2 separate regions of the Homo sapiens genome follow, and region 2 is linked to region 1. Evidence: promoter capture Hi-C in human tissues and cell types (Jung and others, 2019). All regions are on one chromosome and are shown on one strand. The core of a region is centred on a gene start or on the middle of the fragment in contact, and the rest is flanking DNA. Distances in the headings are between cores, read along the strand shown. Region 1 holds the start of CLDN19 (claudin 19). Region 2 overlaps CCDC30 (coiled-coil domain containing 30).

Evidence for each region. Contacts are between HindIII fragments. The study calls those that stand out against the background at their distance.
Region 2: a contact is called between a fragment that was not itself captured here and the fragment with the promoter of CLDN19 in region 1, in 4 of the 25 tissues and cell types used here (IMR-90 fibroblasts, bladder, dorsolateral prefrontal cortex and 1 more).

The regions. Positions count from the first base shown.
Region 1 is chr1:42,737,274-42,742,184 of GRCh38, forward strand. It overlaps CLDN19 (claudin 19), which reads right to left and starts at 2,963. Exons shown (of 5, transcript NM_148960.3): 1 at 2,568-2,963; 2 at 1,148-1,312; 3 at 956-1,040. The coding sequence starts at 2,790. RefSeq lists an enhancer at 4,320-4,911. The HindIII fragment of the contact is 9,679 bases long and covers 1,314-4,911 here.
Region 2 is chr1:42,539,217-42,544,073 of GRCh38, forward strand. It overlaps CCDC30 (coiled-coil domain containing 30), which reads left to right. Exons shown (of 21, transcript NM_001395517.1): 8 at 1-94. Among named protein-coding and RNA genes, the nearest start is that of CCDC30, 78 kb to the left of the region's middle. The HindIII fragment of the contact is 4,163 bases long and covers 1,303-4,857 here.

The DNA of each region.
Region 1 (4,911 bases), core at 1,713-4,212:
ACAGCCGCCTTCCTGGTGTCACTCCCTCCCCACCATTCTGCACATCACAGCCAGAAGGACTGCCGCTGCCTCCACCCAAATGAGGAACAAAATCTTCCTGTGGTTGCAAGGCCCTCCACGATCTGCCCTTATTCTCAAGTTTCTTCCTGGCCCAGAATAACTGCTGCCTCCTGCAGGAAGTCATCTCAGCCCTGCTGCCACCAGCAGAAATGAAAACAGCTCAGGCTTGCTGGGTACTGTCCAGGGCCCGGGCACGGTGCCACACCCTCACCTGCATCCTGCTGGATCCTGACAACCATGTGTGAACTGGTGCTCAGGTTCTAGCTCCATTTCACAGAGGAGGAAACTAGGCACAGAAAGATTAAGTAACTTGCCCAGGTGACACAGTGCATGCAAAGCTGGGATTGATTGATCGTTTGATTTTTTTGAGACAAAATCTCACTCTGTCACCCAGACTGGAGTGCAGTGGCGCAATCTCGGCTCATTGCAACTTTTGCCTCCCGGGTTCAAGCTATTCTCCTGCCTCTGCCTCCCGAGTAGCTGAGATTACAGGCGCCCGCCACCATGCCCAGATATTTTTTGTATTTTTAATAGAGACGGGGTTTCACCATGTTGGCCAGGCTGGTCTTGAACTCCTGACCTCAGGTGATCCACCCATCTTGGCTTCCCAAAGTGCTGGGATTACAGGCGTGAGCCACTGCACCCAGCCAGAGCTGGGATTGAAACCCAGAGCCAGGGCACTTAGGTCCTTAGAGAGTCCTTGCTGCACCTGGGTGCCCATCACAGGCCTCCCGCCCCTATGGAGGGCCCCACCACACTCCTCCTGGCGCCCCCCTTTAAAGCTTCTTGGACAGCAGCTGGATCCTGTCCCCACTTCCCCCGCCAGGTGATCCAGTGGACAAAGGTCAGTGGCCCCAGAGGAGGTAAAGCAAAAGACCCAAGCCCTGGCACCCACCTGGCATTGACAGGTGTGCTTGGGTTGAAGAACTCCTGGGTCACCAGGGTGGCATACCACGAGACAGCAGTCAAAGTGCAGAGGCCTAAAGACAAAGCAGAGGGGCGCTCAGCTCTGCTCTGGCCCCCCGAGGCCACTGGGGCTGGGGCTGCCTGCCATGGTTGTGATTGTGCAGGAGTGAGGGGCACTCACCTGCCAGGATGAAGAGGGCTCCCCCGGCGATGGCAACACGGCCCTTGGCAATGGGGTTGCTGTCTCCCACCCGCGTACACTTCATGCCAACTACGCTGAGGACCATGGCCACGAAGCCCAGGAGCACGGCCACCACCATCAGGGCCCGCGCTGATTGGATGTGACCTAGGGTGGGCGGGATGACACTGAGTCGGGCTGGCGGGGATGGGGGTTGGGTCGGTGCCTGGGGTCGGTGGAAGGAGCCCAGCTTGAGAGGGGCTTGAGCAGGAGCTGGCCTGGGGGGTCAGACCACCTTCTGGCAGGTGCAGGATAGTGAGGAGTGACAGCCCGGGCATGAGGACAGGGTGTGGGGGTGAGAGTCCCCTTCACTGTCAACGCCATTCTCCACTCGCCCTTGCAGGCTTTTCCGGTAGTATGATTCACTCTGCTGTTGCTTTCTGGCCTGGGGACTCCCTCTTGGGCTTGGCCCATCCTCCCAAGCAGCTGAGGGCAGCTCCAGGGTCCCCTCAGGTTTGGTAGGTGGAAGAGCTGGGGGTATCTGAGGCCCAGCTCAACTCAGCCTGAGCCCCGCAGCAACCCCTCCCCAGCAGCCATTCAGACAACAGTCACTTTCCCCTCTGCCCATGGCAGCTGGAAGCTTGCCTCTTCACGGGTGCATGGGTCCATCCTGGGCCCTGGGGGGTGCTCAGGAGACCTGGGTCCCTCAGCGAGGCTAGATGACCTGCCTGAACTGACCTGCCTGAACTGGCACAATGGGGCTGGTTGAAGGCCGCTCTGCTCCCAGCTCCCATGGGGAGCAGATTGTCCCTGGGGGCTCCTGGGCAGATTGCAGGTGGATCACCTCCACCCCAGAGTTAGAACTTCGGCGGTGCCTGTCAGGCTCATCTCCACACCCCAGAAGGAGAGGGACTGCATGCAGACACACCTGTCTGTGCATGCATGTGCACGTGTGTGCGTGTGCATGCGTGTTTGCATGCATGTGCATGCACCCATATGCTGGCACACAGGCCTGGGAGCAGGACTAGGGAGCAGGTGTGCATCATACAGTGTGTGTCTGTCTACTGACTGTGGGGAGAAGTGGATGAAGGGTCTTAACTGAGTCTTTCAGAGTGCCACAGGTATTAGTATTCCCCTTTAGAGATGAGAACATCACAATGGGAAGAGGTTTGGTGACTAGTTCAAAGTTATAGTGACAGAGCAGGAATCTGGACCCACAGCCGCCAGACCCTAGAGCCCTCCCCTCCCACAGGGCAGCAGGCTGGCCTGGACCGTCAATGGGCACAGGGCAGTAGTGGGGGAATTGTAGAGCGGAGGCTGGAGGTTGGAGCCCAGCGCAGATAGCAGACTGTGAGGAAAACTTGCTCCAGACTCCCCTGCTGTTCCCACCTCCCATCTCCCACCCCGCCGGCCTGGGGCCTACCGTCCAGGGCGAGCAGCGAGTCGTAGAGCTTGCACTGCACTTGCCCAGTGCTCTGGGAGGCGCAGGACATCCAGAGCCCTTCATAGAGGCCCACGGCAGTGATGATGGCGTCGCCTGCGTAGGAAGACTGCTTCCACTGTGGCAGGGCTGTGCTAGCAATGATGCCCACCCAGCCACCCAGGGCCAAGAAGTAGCCCAGGAGCTGGAGGCCTGAGTTGGCCATGGCCCAGGAGAGAGGACCGAGGGTCCCAGGACTCAGAGCTGGGCCAGGGTGCCAGCAGGGGCTTTGGTCATGGCCAGGTGGGAGGAGCAGCTGGGCAGGGGGAGCAGCGAGAAGGAGGGTCAGAGGCAGAGAAGGAGAGGTGGTGCGGCGGCAGCGGCTGGAGCAAAGGCAGTGGCTCTGGACTCCAGAATGCAGGGGGAGGCCCAGGGGCTGGAAAAGGCCAGGGCCCGCCCACAGCAGCCGCCTAAGCCAGAGCAGGGTCCCCAGCAAAGCTCATGCCCAGCCCCCTGGGGGCGGAGGGCCGGCCCATGGCCCAGGTGGTGTCCCTGCCCCGCCCCGTTCCGCAGGGATAGGGAAGGGAGGGGCTGAGAGGAATGACCCAGCTGCCCTCTGGGCCTTTCCCCACAGGGAAACCCCTTTAGGAACCTGATTCGGGTGTCCTAAAATTCGGATAATCCCTAACCCAAACACCAGCCCTGGGAGGATGGACTTTGCTCTTGCAAGGCTGATCTAACCCTTGGGGTTTTCTGCCCTTTGACTTTAGGACAGAAGGGAAAGGAATGCCAGTTTGCAGCGGGTAAAACTAGAGTTAGATGTCAAGGATAACTTTTTGGCAGGGGCTCTGAAGCTGGATGTGGGGAGGCTGAGCTAGCGGTGGGGTGTTGGGAAGAGGGGTCATGGGTACCTGGGAGCTGTGTGTGCCAAAAATCAGGGAGGCCAGACCAGGAAATATGTACTGTGGGGTCTTTTTGAGATCTGAGGGGGACAGAAAAGGGGCCCTATCGAGGCTGGGCCAGCGCTGGCTGCCGGCCAGCAAGGGGCCTGGTGGGGAGCTGGGGAGACAGCCCCAACCTTCTGGCATCAGCCTGAAGGAAGGCGGATTGCTCAGCCCCTTAATCCCCTTGCTGGCTGGCTTAGTAGCTCCTGCTGGGACTGGAACACTGGGCCCTGGCCCCCAACTCTAGAGCAGCCTGGCGCGGAGCAGTGGCCTCTGCACATTCCCGGGGTTCAGGCTGCCCGCTCCGAGCACCCCCACCTCCCTCTTCTCTCTCCCAGTCTCTCTTGGTCTTCAGGAGTAGGGGAATGTTTAACTCTCTTCCACCTCATTAGCAATCCCCTCACGTTCAAGTGGGCCCCACTGCAGCGTGGGTGCAGAAGGAATGTCACAACCCTGCTTCCACTCCTGCCAGCCCCCCGCCGCCCCCTCCGTCCCCAACAGCCCACCCACCCTTCCTGGACTGCACTGGGGGAAGGCAGGGTCCTGCTGCAGACCCCTGCTGGCTTCCTCCCCCACAGCCCCAACCCCCCTCTGAAGGGACAAGTCCCCAGCCCGCTCTTGCATTCTTCACGTGGCTATGCAAACGAGAGGGTGCCAGGCGCTGAGCAGACAATGGCAGCCCTGTGTGCCCGCCCAGGGCGTAGGCCTCTGGTATGGCCTGCAGCTCTGGCCAGAGATGGGGGAGTGGTCTGCCATCTGAGGGTCAAGGGTGGGCACTGCTTGACCTGTGGTGGTGCACACTGGGACCCTCAGGCTCTCTGTGCTGGGAGGGTCAGAGCCACGTGGATCCGAGCACACACAGACCTGCTTCCTGGACGACCTGTGGGTCCCAAGACCAAATGGGGTCTAGGACAGTGGCAGAGAAGTAAGTCCTGAGCTCAGATTCTTCTACCACAATGACAAGACAGTAGGATTGAGGGGAGCCTCCTCCATCCTACTGGGGCCGCAATGGGCACCCTGTGACCAGTGCATTAATTTAAGCATGTGGGCCACTGTTGCAGGCAGCAGGCCTCCTAACAGTAAGGAGACCACGGCAGAGGGAGGTAATAGACCCCCAGCCAGGAAACAGCAGGAAGGGCTTTCCGCTTGAAACTGTGTGGTGCTGGCCCCTGTGGTCTCTCTCCCACACTCCTCCCTTTTTGAGGGAGGCACCAGGTCCAGATTGAAGGGGGCTGCGGGCAGTGACAAGATGCTCCCCAGGGGTGACCTGAATGACTGTGGTGCCTCAGGGTCCTCACTCTAAATGGGAGGTTTGCTTCATGGAGTTGTGGTGGTCCGTTAAAGTAAGCGATGTCTGGGGAGGGCAGGGGCCTGGTGCTGGGTAGCTGCTCCGCATATGCTCC
Region 2 (4,857 bases), core at 2,134-4,633, 200 kb before region 1:
AGTTCACAATCTTCCAGGGGAATCAGAAAGCAAAGACCATTTTTTAATAGCATGTGACCTGTTACAAAGAGAGAATTCTGAATTAGAAACAAAGGTGAGACTGAGTTAGGTATTTAAATGTTCAATATTTAATGTAGCTTTTATGAGGATAGGTTAAAAGGAAATTAATTTTAAGCAACAGATGATTTGGGAATTGGAGTTTCTTCTATTATTATAGCATAAATTGCCATATACTGCCATATACTGTGGATTATGAGTCAAGCTATATGTCAAGATAAATATTCAGACTTCAACCAGCACTTGGCAATTAGGATTAATCTGCAAATTTTTTTACTTTAAATCAGCTTCCCACCAACTTAATTTTTGGAGTACATATTATAATGTAAAATATTTATTTAAATGTCTTCAATTTAAAAATTTAGGATCAAAGCATCTTTCTATAATGTAAAAGATTTATTTAAATGTCTTCAATTTAAAAATTTAGGACCAAAGCGTCTTTCTCAGTTACACTGAAAATTGGGCTTAGAATTAGGAAAATGTTCAAATGTCCTGATTCAAGCTTGTTCCTTAAGTTTAAAAATGGCTTCCAGGGAGCCTAAGTTTAAAAATGTGCCCAGGAGTTAGAGGCTGTAGTGTGCTGTGATTGTGCCTGTGAATAGCCACTGCATTTCAGCCTGGGCAGCACAGTGAGACCCCATCTCTAAAAAAAAAAAAAAAGAAAAGGCTACCTGGCCAGGGCAAAGGATTCCCATCTAGTCCAATACTAGACTGAAAGGTTGCCTGTATAATTTCTAGAGTCCCACCTATTAGGTTATCACTATCTCCTCCTGGCTGAAAATTCCTTTCCTCGATCACTCTTTTGACCTAGACTAAAGATTAAGGAGCAAAGTCTTGAATACAGCAGTTAAAATATATTAGGCTATATTTTAACACCATATGTAAGGTGAGTAACTAAATCAAAGCCTAATTTAACCTATGTGTAGTTATCCCAGAAAATCAGGAGCAGGTTGCTGAGGGATTGGGACATAGATCAGATAGCATGTGACATGGGAGGGAAAGGTCCAGAACATAGGGTTTGCTGCCTGGGAGAGTAGCTATGTAGAGCATAATATACAACTAAGCCTTTTTTGTGGGACCTTGTCAGCAAGGTAAGTTATCATCACGTTGTACAGTTAAAGGGCCAGGCCTTTTAAAATATCATTGAAAAAGTTAACAACAGATGAGCTGAAATGAGAAGAATATAATATAAAATAAAGAGATCCAGATCTGCTCTTCTGGTAATCTGGGTCTCCTTTTTTCTTAAACTTTTTATGTTGAAATAATATCAGACTCACAGAAAAAATTATGAAAGTACAAAGACTTCCCATATACTTTCACTCTTCCAAATGTTAACATGGTATCGTGTTTACCTTATCATTGTCTCTCTTTCCCTCTACACACACACACACACACATACACATACACACACACACACACAGTTTTTTATAAACTCTTTGAGAGTAAGTTGGAGACATAATCTCCTTTACCCTTAAATATTTCCATGTGGGTTTACTAAAAACAATAACATCTCCTATTACCACAGTACAAGTCTCAAAATCAGGAAATTGACATTGACACAATACCATTATCTAATCTATAGCTCGTATTCAGATTTTATTCTGATTCCCCTCTATAGCAAGAGAATAACTTTTTTCCTAGTCTGAGATCCAACCCAGGATCATACATTGCATTTAATTGTCATGTCTCTATAGCTCCTTCAATCTGCAAAAGTTCCTCAGTCTGTCTTTGTCTTTTATGATTTTGATATTTTCGAAGAGTACTGTCTCAGTCAGTTTGGGCTGCTATAACATAATACAATAGACTGGGTAGATTAAACAACAAATATTTATTTCTCTCAGTTCTAGAGGCTGGGAAATCAAAGATCAAGATGTTGGCATATCTGGCATATTCAGTGTCTGGTGAGGGCATTCTTCCTGATTTGCAGACAGCTATCTTCTCATTGTATCTTCACATGGCCAACAGCAAAGAGAGAGAGAGAGTGCAAGCTTTTTCCTGTCTCTTCTCAAAAGGGCACTACTACAATCATGAGGGCTGCACCCTTGTGCATTAGTTACTTGCCAATGTGTCCTCCTAATACCATCCCATTGAGGGTAAGGCTTTCAACATATGAACTTTGAGTCAACACAAACATGCAGTGCATAACAAGACCATTGATTTTGAAGAATGTCTCTTAATTTGGATTTGTCTGATGTTTTCTCACGATGTAATTCAGATTACCCACACTACAGAGATAATGTTGTATCCTTCTCAGTGTATTTTATCAGGAGACATGACATTTTTGTTCTATTCCTCATGATATTAACTTGGATCATTTGGTTAAGGTACTGTCTGCTAGATTTCTACACTACAAAGTTATTACTTTTGCCTTTGCAATAGATACATATCTTGTGGGGAGATACTTTGAGACTATGTGTTATGTTTCCCATCAAACTTTTACTCATTAAAAGTTTCTGTTTTGAATCTTTGATTTTTAAGTTATATTCTAGTTTTTCTTCAGAATATAGAGTGCTTTAGACTTAAAGATAGTCTTGCTAAAGAAGCTGTATGTATTTGCTGAAGCCCACATTTTACAGGCTGTCATTTTTGTTTGGGTTACAACATCTAGACTCATACAGAATTTTAGAGCTGAAATGAGTATGATCATGTAGACCAACTCCTTCAGTTTACACATAAGAACACCAAGGCCCAGGGATATTAGACTGCTGCCAAGTTACATGGTGATTCTCAGCCTATGCTCTTTCTACCCTAGCCTAAGGCCTCAATCAGAAAGTGGAACCATAAGCTTAATTCTTATGCTACTTAAACATGGCTGATTATTAAACTGAGCTATATCACTAAGATACAATTTTGGTAGGAAGAAGTCTGTGGAACAGAGTTGGTCCTGTTCCACAATAGCCATGTCATGGAGGGTCTGATGGCTTTAACTTTCTTTGTTATAAAGAATAAAGCTTCTACTCACTTAAGATATACACTACTTTGTCATGTGAGAATTCAGAATACCTAGAAAATGCTTTGTGTTAGTGTCACCATCCTTTGCAGAAACCCTCAGCAGCTTTCAGTTTGCTATAACGTCAAATCTAAACTCCACTGTTTTATCCTTTTTTTTTCTGAGATGAGGTCTCTCTATCACCCAGATTGGAATGCAGCGGCAAGATCATAGCTCACCTCCCCCTCCTGGCCTCAGGTGATTGTCCTGCCTCAGCCTCCCAAGGAGCTGAGACCACAGGCACATGGCACCACACCTGGCTAATTTTAAATTTTTCTTTTTTTTTTTTTTTTTTTTTTGAGACGGAGTCTCGCTCTGTCGCCCAGGCCGGACTGCGGACTGCAGTGGCGCAATCTCGGCTCACTGCAAGCTCCGCTTCCCGGGTTCACGCCATTCTCCTGCCTCAGCCTCCCGAGTAGCTGGGACTACAGGCGCCCGCCACCGCGCCCGGCTAATTTTTTTTTGTATTTTTAGTAGAGACGGGGTTTCACCTTGTTAGCCAGGATGGTCTCGATCTCCTGACCTCATGATCCACCCGCCTCGGCCTCCCAAAGTGCTGGGATTACAGGCGTGAGCCACCGCGCCCGGCCTAAATTTTTCTTTAATAAAGACAGGGTCTCCCTATTTTGCCAGGCTGCCTTTCTTTACTACTTAAGTGACTAACATTTATTATCTGTAATGTTTACATTTTTACAATGACCACAAAGATTAGTGATTAAGTAGCATTTTGGAATATTTTTTCCTGCTTACAAAAATAATGCAAGCTCATTAATAAAATTGTCTTTTACGTTCCTTTATAATCTGACCTCTCCCTTCAATCTTGCCTTATTCCTTCTGAGTAGCTGGGACTACAGGCACCTGCCACCACGCCCAGCTAATTTTTTGTATTTTTAGTAGAGACGGGATTTCACTATGTTGGCCAGGCTGGTCTTGAACTCCTGACCTCATGATCTGCCCACCTCAGCCTCCCAAAGTGCTGGGATTACAGGTGTGAGCCACCACAACTGGCCTTCTTTTTTTTTTTTTCCCCTCCTTCCCTCCCTCCCTTCCTTCCTACCTTGCTTTCTTTTCTTTCTTTCTCACTCAGTTGTCTTTCTCACTCACGCTGGAGTGCTGTGGCACGATCTTGGCTCATTGCAATCTCCACCTCACAGGTTCAAGTGATTTTCATGCCTCAGCCATCCGAGTAACTGGGGTTGCAGCATGTACCACCACACCTGGCTAATTTTTCTATTTTTAGTAGAGATGGGGATTCACCATGTTGGCCAGGCTGGTCTCAAACTCCGGCAATCTTGCCTTATTTCTGCAGCTCCTTACTTTGTAGCCTCTATTCCAATGAAATCATCCTCCTTACTTTCCCCCAAATTACTCTATACTCAGTTCTATGTCAGTGCCTTTGGCCATATTGCTCCCCATGCTTAAAATGTGCTATTTGTAGTCTCTTCTCTTATCTATATCTTCCCAACTTGAAAGGACTAGTTCAAGACCAACCTTCTCCCCTAGAAAGGTTATAGTCCATATGAGATTTTATGGATTTTATGAGATTATAGTCCATTTTACACACTGTAGTTTCTCTTCAGAGAATTGAAAAGGCATAGGAAACCAAAGGGATCTCTTAAAGTAAACTTAAATTGATCTTTATAATTAAGTCCATTGTGTTCTTAGAATCAAACATGTAGAAGCTTTGCATTTTCAGACAGGCTCAGGATATGAATCAGGCAGGCTATTGTCTACCTTAGCACAATACTTTGATGGGGATCCATTTTCCTTTCTTATTTTTTATTCCATTCTATTTGTTTGTTTATTTGGGT